Regions from separate parts of the Homo sapiens genome. Here region 1 is linked to region 2. Evidence: promoter capture Hi-C in 16 types of primary human blood cells and fetal thymus (Javierre and others, 2016). All regions are on one chromosome and are shown on one strand. Each heading gives the region's core, a stretch centred on a gene start or on the middle of the fragment in contact. The rest is flanking DNA. Distances are from core to core; before and after follow the strand shown.

The links. The method cuts DNA at HindIII sites, captures the fragments that hold promoters and counts their contacts. A CHiCAGO score of 5 or more calls a contact.
Region 1: a contact is called between a fragment that was not itself captured here and the fragment with the promoter of PRELID3B in region 2, in 1 of 17 cell types (total CD8 T cells). The highest score is 6.4, in total CD8 T cells.

Annotation. Positions count from the first base shown.
Region 1 is chr20:57,614,652-57,618,375 of GRCh38, forward strand. ZBP1 (Z-DNA binding protein 1) reads right to left here. Exons shown (of 8, transcript NM_030776.3): 2 at 1,593-1,817; 3 at 861-929; 4 at 236-409. Among named protein-coding and RNA genes, the nearest start is that of ZBP1, 3.9 kb to the right of the region's middle. RefSeq lists an enhancer at 3,328-3,724. The HindIII fragment of the contact is 3,446 bases long and covers 128-3,573 here.
Region 2 is chr20:59,040,600-59,044,337 of GRCh38, forward strand. It overlaps PRELID3B (PRELI domain containing 3B), which reads right to left and starts at 2,187. Exons shown (of 6, transcript NM_016045.3): 1 at 2,100-2,187. The coding sequence starts at 2,131. It overlaps SLMO2-ATP5E (SLMO2-ATP5E readthrough), which reads right to left and starts at 2,247. Exons shown (of 6, transcript NR_037930.1): 1 at 2,100-2,247. RefSeq lists a silencer at 2,105-2,504. The HindIII fragment of the contact is 2,130 bases long and covers 726-2,855 here.

The sequences.
Region 1 (3,724 bases), core at 601-3,100, 1.4 Mb before region 2:
CATTCACTGGCCTTCTGCAACTGCAGACCTTGGGCCACGCCTCCAAAAAGCTGTCCCTGGTTAATCTTGCCAGCACACCCCTTCCTCCTGGAAGCCCTTGCAGTGAATTGTCGGTAGGACCTCCAGAAGCTTCTAGCAGTTTCCGGTGAGCTGCTCAGCAGAGCACCCAGCAAAGACCAAGCACTAGTGTCATGGTTTCCCTCTGCAGCCCAGACACAGGCAGCCGGGGGCCTACCTGGGCGGTAAATCGTCCATGCTTTGGACTGCTCATCCATGTCCAGAAGGTGCCTGCTCTTCATCCTGTACAAGTCTCGGTTCACATCTTTTGCTGTCCTCATTCCCAGTGCTTGGGCGATGACCAGGGCCCTCTGGGGACCATTGTCTTTGAGAAACCTGTAGATGTCTTCCTCTGGGAGGCAGGATGGCCAGGTGGTTAGGGAGTAGTCCTAGGGTTTGCATCTGCCCCACCGCTTCCTAGCTGTGTGGCCCTGGACCCAGCCCCTCAAGGCCTGGTTTCCTCATCTGTAAAATGGGTGTCATGATAACGGGGTCATCATGACGCACCGCAGAGGTGCCCTGAGGGTGGGGGATGTGCACAGAGTGCTCTGCGCTGGGCCTGGCATGTGGCGGGTGCATGGTGAGGGTCAGCTATTGTCTGACTGGAGAAATCACTGCTCAGCCATTCAGATTCTCCCACTGTGAGGGCTGGGTCTTGGCTCTGAACACTGTATGGGAGCTGCCTGGTGGGTGGGACAGGGCCCCTGAACACTGGTGAGATCTTGTACCCTCAAGGAGGGCCTGGGGTTCCTGGGGAGTGGGATCCTGTGTCCCGGGAACTGAAGGGACATGCAAAAACTTACCCCGTTGTTGGCTGAACTGAGGGCCAGGGGTCTCTGGAATTGTAGCTGCATGTTGCTGGGGCCTCTCGGCTGCAGAAAGAAAGATGGGTCAGAGGGGTGGGGGACAGAAGACAGCACCAGGCCTCCACCCCACAAAGGTGGGCAGCTCCCTAGGGGTAAGTGGCAATGCCGGTAGTTGCAAACTCAGACTCCAGAGTTCAACACACTTGACTTCAAATCCTGCCTGCGCCCTGGCAGCTGCGGCTTCCTGCCGATTAACTTCTCCGGGGCTCAGCCTCCTTTGCCTCCTGGGGTTGTGTGAGGGCTGGGTGAACCCCAAAACAGTGCCTGGCTAATCTTAAGTGCATGATAAATGGCAGCTCCTTCTGGCTGTGGGCTGTAAAGCTAGAAAAGGGGGGCTGGTGGGACTGCATATGTTCTGTGATTGGGACCATGGCGTCATTGCTGTCTCCATCATGATGATTTTCTATTATAATTGTTAGTGTTCTGCAGAGTACCTCCTGTGTGCAGGGCTGGGCTGAGCCTGACGCAGGGCCTCCTCTCAGCAACCCCTACCAAGCAGCCCTGCTGTGAGCTCCATCAACCAGAAAAAGAAACCAAGGCACAGAGAGAGGAAACCTGTGAGCTCCCATGTGGCAGAGTTCAGATTCGAACCCAGGCTCAAATCTGTGCTTGTCCATTGCCAGGATGCTCCCTGCAGGGTCAGACCCGCCTCCCCGGGGTGGCAGTTACCAGGGCTGGACAAGGCCAGCTCTGCAGGACCCTCGCCTTCAGGATCAGTCCCGCCCAAGCACCAGGTGGCAGGGGATGTGAGGGAGACTTTCAACTCCTTTTTCATTCGGTAGAGGACTTGGTTGAGCTCCCTCTTGGGTGCTTGGCATTCCTTCACCAGCTGGGCAAGTTTCACCGGGGAGCCAGCCTCTGTCAGCACCTGCAGGATTCTTTGTTCAAGGTGGCCTGGGGGAGCGAGCGGGGGACAGAGAGGGGAACTGAGTCTCCCAGGTCCCCACAGTTGAGCCCAGGCTGGAGGCTCCAGGAGGCACGTAGGCCCCTTTTTGAGAGGGGTCCAGGGCAGAGGAAAGGGCAAGGACCCCAGCAGATGCCCCCTAAGAGCAGTAGGGCAGCTGCATCTGCCCAGAGGGAGGCATGCAGGCTGATCAGAAACGGCCTTGGCTGCGCAGCCTGGTGGCCAGGGGAGGTGCCACCTCGCCTGTGCCCTCCCCGGGTGTGGGTTCCAGAGGGCAGTGGGGTTCCTCAGCTCTCAGGTGTCCTCAGGGCAGAGGGGAGTAGAGGGCAGAAGGACGGAGCCAGAGGGAGGCAGGGGGACCTGGGAGCGCAAAGGCAAGTCCTGCCTGGGACGCCTGCCTGGGTTTACCTGATGCCCATCGCCATCCTCCCCGGGAGTGCCCTCCTCTCAGCTCACCATCCATCCATGGCGCCACTATCCATCCAAGCCAGAGACCGACCAGACATCAGAAACAGACCTTTCCCCCAGTGCCCAGTCGTGGAGCCCTGGAAATGCCATTCCTGGATTCTCTGGAATCCCCCCACTCCTCTCTTTTCTGCCAGCACCACCCCCTTCCTCTTCACCATCTCCTAGGTACAGTGATAGGCTCCCCGTTGGCCCGCCAGCTCCAGTCAGGTACCCTCCAGATCTGGCTCTGCCAACCACCCAGCTTGGCCTGCACCTGCCCCCAACTTCCCTCCAAGTGCTGGCCTGTCTGTGCTCCCTTCAGCCCCACTCTCCCCAGCCCCTTTGTGCACACTGTTCCTGCTGCCAGGAGCACCCTTCCCTCACGCCCCAACCTGTATGATGTCTACTCAACCTCCAGGCCTCCTCAGATGCCACTTCCTAGGGAAAGCCTGTCTCTGTGTCCCAGAGTGGCTGGGACGCTGCTTGTGTGTGGGTCCCCTGCAGAACTTCCCCTAGTGTCCCCTGCTGTGCTTGCATGGCTCACTGTTGTACCTTCAGCATCTAGCACAGTGCTGGGCACACAGTAGGTGCTCAGGAAATGGCAGTTGAATGTATGAGTGACTGAGTGAATGAATGAATGAATGAATGGGGCCAGGAGTGGTGGCTCACACTTGTAATCCTAGCACATCAGAAGGCTGAGATGGGAGGACCCCTAGAGGCCAGGAGTTCTAGACCAGCCTGGGCAACATAGTGAGACCCCCATCTCTACAAAAAAAGAGAAAAATCAGGTAGGTACGATGGCATATGCCTGTAGTCCCAGCTGCTTAAGAGGCTAAAAGTGGGAGGATCGCTTGAATCTAGGAGGTAGCAGTTGCAGTGAGCTATGAATGCACCACTGCACTCCAGCCTGGACAAGACCCCATCTCTGGAAAAAAAAAAAAAAAGGACTGAATGAGTGAGTGTCTGTCTCTAGGGACAGACGTTTACCCAATAGACCCTGGGCAGGGCCCGGGTAGCTTCTCCTTGGCCAGTTGGCAATGTGCTGCTGTTTCCTGGCCTGAGTTTAATGAGGACTAAGCAGGACCCCAAGAGGTTCAAGGAGGAATTCTCCAAATGGCCCCTGCTCCTCCTGAGGCAGCTCTTAAAAATCAAAACCATTAGCTCACACAATGATTAAAAGATCAAAGCCAGCTGCTCTGCCCAGAGATGAGGCTGGGGCAGACGCAGGTTACGGGCAGCACCTGGCAGCCAGCAGCCTGGGAGAGCCACTGTGGGCGGGGGCCCCACCTGTCACCAGGAAGCTTCTGCTTCAAGGAACCTGAGGGCAGTGCATGGGAGAGCCCTTCTTGGAAAGACCTGAGTTCCCCTTCCAGGACAGTGACTCAGTCCTTTGTCATCTGGGCTTTCTTTCCTGTTCAGAGGATTCTCCAGGTTTGCCCAGGGTTCCTTG
Region 2 (3,738 bases), core at 937-3,436:
GATAAGATGTAGAATGATGACTTAGACATTGTTAGAGAGTGACATCCTAAAGATCAGAAACAACGCTCAGATTTGTCAGGGGAGATGATGACTTCAATTTCAGACAGGCTGAGTTTTAAGGGCCTGTGGGACACGAGGGTAGCAATGCCTAACAGGCACCTGAAAATGAAAAGCGGAGCTCAAGAGAGGCTGGAGCTCAAGGTACAGATCTGGGTGCCATAAATGTATACCTATCATTTGGGACTTTGACCAAACAGCTCAGATTATGTGGGGAGAAAGCACGGATCAGGGCTGCTTCTCCCAGGACAAAAAAAAAGTCTGTGACGAAAAGAGAAACAAAAAAGAAATTAAGATCACAGGTAAAATCCAATATAGGAAGGCCAACACAGAATCTCACTGAACATTTACACTGAATGGGAAAAGACAGGGAAGCGCTGAAGACAAAGGCAGAAAGAGTGTAGAGGGAAGGAGGGGATGAGCCAGGAAGAAGAGTTAGGGAAGATATGGGAGAAGACAGTTCTAGGGAGACTGAGTGCCGAGAACCTCTGAAGCATGCAAACCCAGAAGAGGACTGAAGCATGCAAACCTGGAAGAGGACTGAAATTAAACATCCTCGGAGCTGAAATGGACTAGTGATGAATGCGACCAGGTTAATGAACATCTAAATGACCACAAATTTCGGGTCTTTTTCCTCCCAAAAAGACTAAACAGTAGGGGGAAAAGAAAGCTTCCTTCTGATTCCAGTATTCTATACTTTGCAGGATACAGCAGGCCCTAGGATGTGTCCCACTGAGTACAAATGCGGACAACGTTTTAAAAGTTGCCTTCAGAGGCCGGGCACAGTGGCCCACACCTGTAATCCCGGCACTTTGGGAGGCCAAGGCGGGCGAATCACCTGAGGTCAGGTGCGACCTGACCAGGGCGAATCACTTTGAGACCAACCTGACCAACATGGTGAAACTCCGTCTCTACTAAAAATACAAAAATTAGCCGGGCGCGGTGGTGGGCGCCTGTAATCCCAGCTACTTGGGAGGCCAAGGCAGGAGAATCGTTTGAACACGGGAGACGGAGGTTGCAGTGAGCCAAGAACACGCCACTACTCTCCAGCCTGGGCAACAGAGCGAGACTCTGCCTCAAAAAAGAAATTTAAAAAAAATTTGCCTTCAGAGACAGTTTTAAAAACATAAATGGCTTTGTAGCATATTTATTTACAAGGCTATACTAATTAAAACAGTGTGGCAACGACATTAAGATCAGCGGAACAGAGCAGGTAACTCGGGAAAAAAAAGGATTTCGCTGCTTAAATTTGTGGCTCTTTTGTAAATGGAATCAGGGACCTAGAAGAGAATATAATTCTCCACATCCAACTGGTTCAAGGCTTAGTTTCGTTAGTAAACAGTTCACATTATCCAAAAAGATGTTCCTGAACGTGGCCTCAAAGAGCTAACACGGGTAGGCCCTGACGATCGTCCTTTTCCATCTCTCAGATGAAAATGGGTAACCCAGGGTCACACGCTTGTTACAGCCAGAGCTAGACCTTGAATTCCAAATCCAAGGCTCTGCTGCGTAGATGAACGAGTTGTGAAAAGGCTTCACATCCTGGTGGTCAGAGTTCACCCGAAATTCACATTCGAAGGTAGAAACTCCACCCAAACGGCGGCCAGGGAAAGTACACTCTGGAGAAAACCAACACCTCCCTCTTGGGATCCTCGGGTCCACGTCCCAAAGTGGTTTCACAGGGCGGGATGGGGCAACCCTGAGTGCTGTCAAGGGCTTCGTGCTCCGCGACGCCCCCAGGACCTCAGGAGGCCGCCGGCCCGAGGCTACCTCATGGTGGGGGACAGCCCGGAAGTGACCCCGTAGCCCTGCCGGTCGCAAGGCCGCCTGGGTCTGGAGGTCGGAGCCGTCCCCTCGGCTAGGGCGCCTCGGGGTCGTGACCTTGGTCTGCCCTCCGTGTCGCCGGGGCCCGCAGGCTTCAGAGTTCGCTCCCCTCGCTAGGCCCGACGCCTAGAAGCCTCCTGCGGGCCGCCTCTGCCTCGCCTCTACTCCAGGGCCGGCGTGCCTGCCCTCCACGGAGCCGACCCGCGCCCCAAACTTACTCAAAGACGTGCTCCGAAGTCCAGATCTTCATGGTGCCGGCACCCTGAGAGATGTCCGGGTAGCGCCAGGGGACAACGAGGCACAGAGGCTACACCTGCCCCTGCCCCGCCCCCAGCACCCCAGCCGGCGGCGCAGTGCGCAGGCGCTGTCGGGCCCGACGCGAGGGACGTCCAGACGCGCGGCCCCACGCCCTATCCCGGCCCGGGTTTTGCCCCAGCCTTGCGCGCGGCGCAAGGAAACCCCGCCTCTTAGCGCCGGGCGCATCGCGCCGGCGCAGTGCCGCCGACGGCAGCTGGAGGGGCCGGCGCGGGCGCTGTGCTGCGCAGGCGCGGCGGGCTTGTAGCGAGCCTTGACCTCTGGGCAGAGTTGGGTCAGGTCCAGGAGGTGCCTGCGCGCCCGCTTGGCCCTCCTTGTCCTTCTGGCCCAGCACATCCTCGCCTGGCATTTCGAGGCGTGTGGACGCATGCGGTCAGCCTGCTGACATAGATGTTCGTTGTGGTGGTCACTTGTGCAAAATTTCCTGGTGCCCTATAGAGAGTTCCAGCCACCTCCTGGGTCAGCCCGGGCTGTTTTCCCAAATCCACCAGCCACCCAGCCGATCAGCTGGGCCAGTCCCACCTGCCCGCCAGGAGCTTGCAGCCCTCGGAGGGGATAAATAAGGCGTGACGCGGAGAAGCTAACATCAGACCTGCCCATGAATAATACCCCTACGAGGGATGCGGTCCGGAAGCACGGTGCCAGGGGTCGGGTAGAAAAGCTTCCTGGCCGGGCACACCTTGCCCTAGGTGCATAGGATGGATCTGAGCTGAGATGTCTCTCCCAGAGAGACTTCCCTCGTCACCGTTTCTCACCTTGTTGCTCTGCTCCGTCACAATATCCTGTTGCATTTTTTATAGCACTTACCCCTCTGACATCATCTTGTTAATTTATTTGTGAAAATTCACAATCGAACTGAGTTCTTGAAGGCAAGAATCTTGCCGGTCTTGCTCAAAAATCATCCTCAGTGTCTCCCATATAGTCAAGGCTCAATGACTACTTATTGAAAAATGAAAAAAATCAATAGCTATTTGTGGGATGAATGAATTAATGGAGTCATCTAGTTTATTTGTTGTAACTTCCGCTAGACTGTAAGCCCCTGAGGGCGAGGCTCTTGCCAGACTTGTTCAGTGATTTCCCCCTTCCTAAATGACAATTATTTGTTGCATCAATGGATGAAAGAATGACTAAGAATTGCTGGGGCAGGAGGAGGTGGCATGTGGTTTCATTCAGAGATGAGCCTTGTCCAGGGAACAGACTGCCTGGCTTAGCTTTCAGAATATGGCTTCCCACCCTGCTCTCCTGCACTCTCCACAGCCGTCTACCTCCTAACAGAACAATTTGCCATTTTCAATGAAGGTTATGGAGGAAAATCTTTACATCTAGTTACTTAGAAGCTTGTTAGAAGGACCACCTCATTCTTGTTCTTAGCTTGTTTGATTGTTAAAGACAAAAAGCCAGGTTAATTTAGGAGGGAGGATAATTTTTCAAAATAACATAAGTCCTTTATACAGGAAAACAAAAATTACATTAGACAGGAAGGAAATAATATGGTTGGGTAGTTGCTAAGTGCAATTTGTGGTACCTGAGATTTTCTTTTTT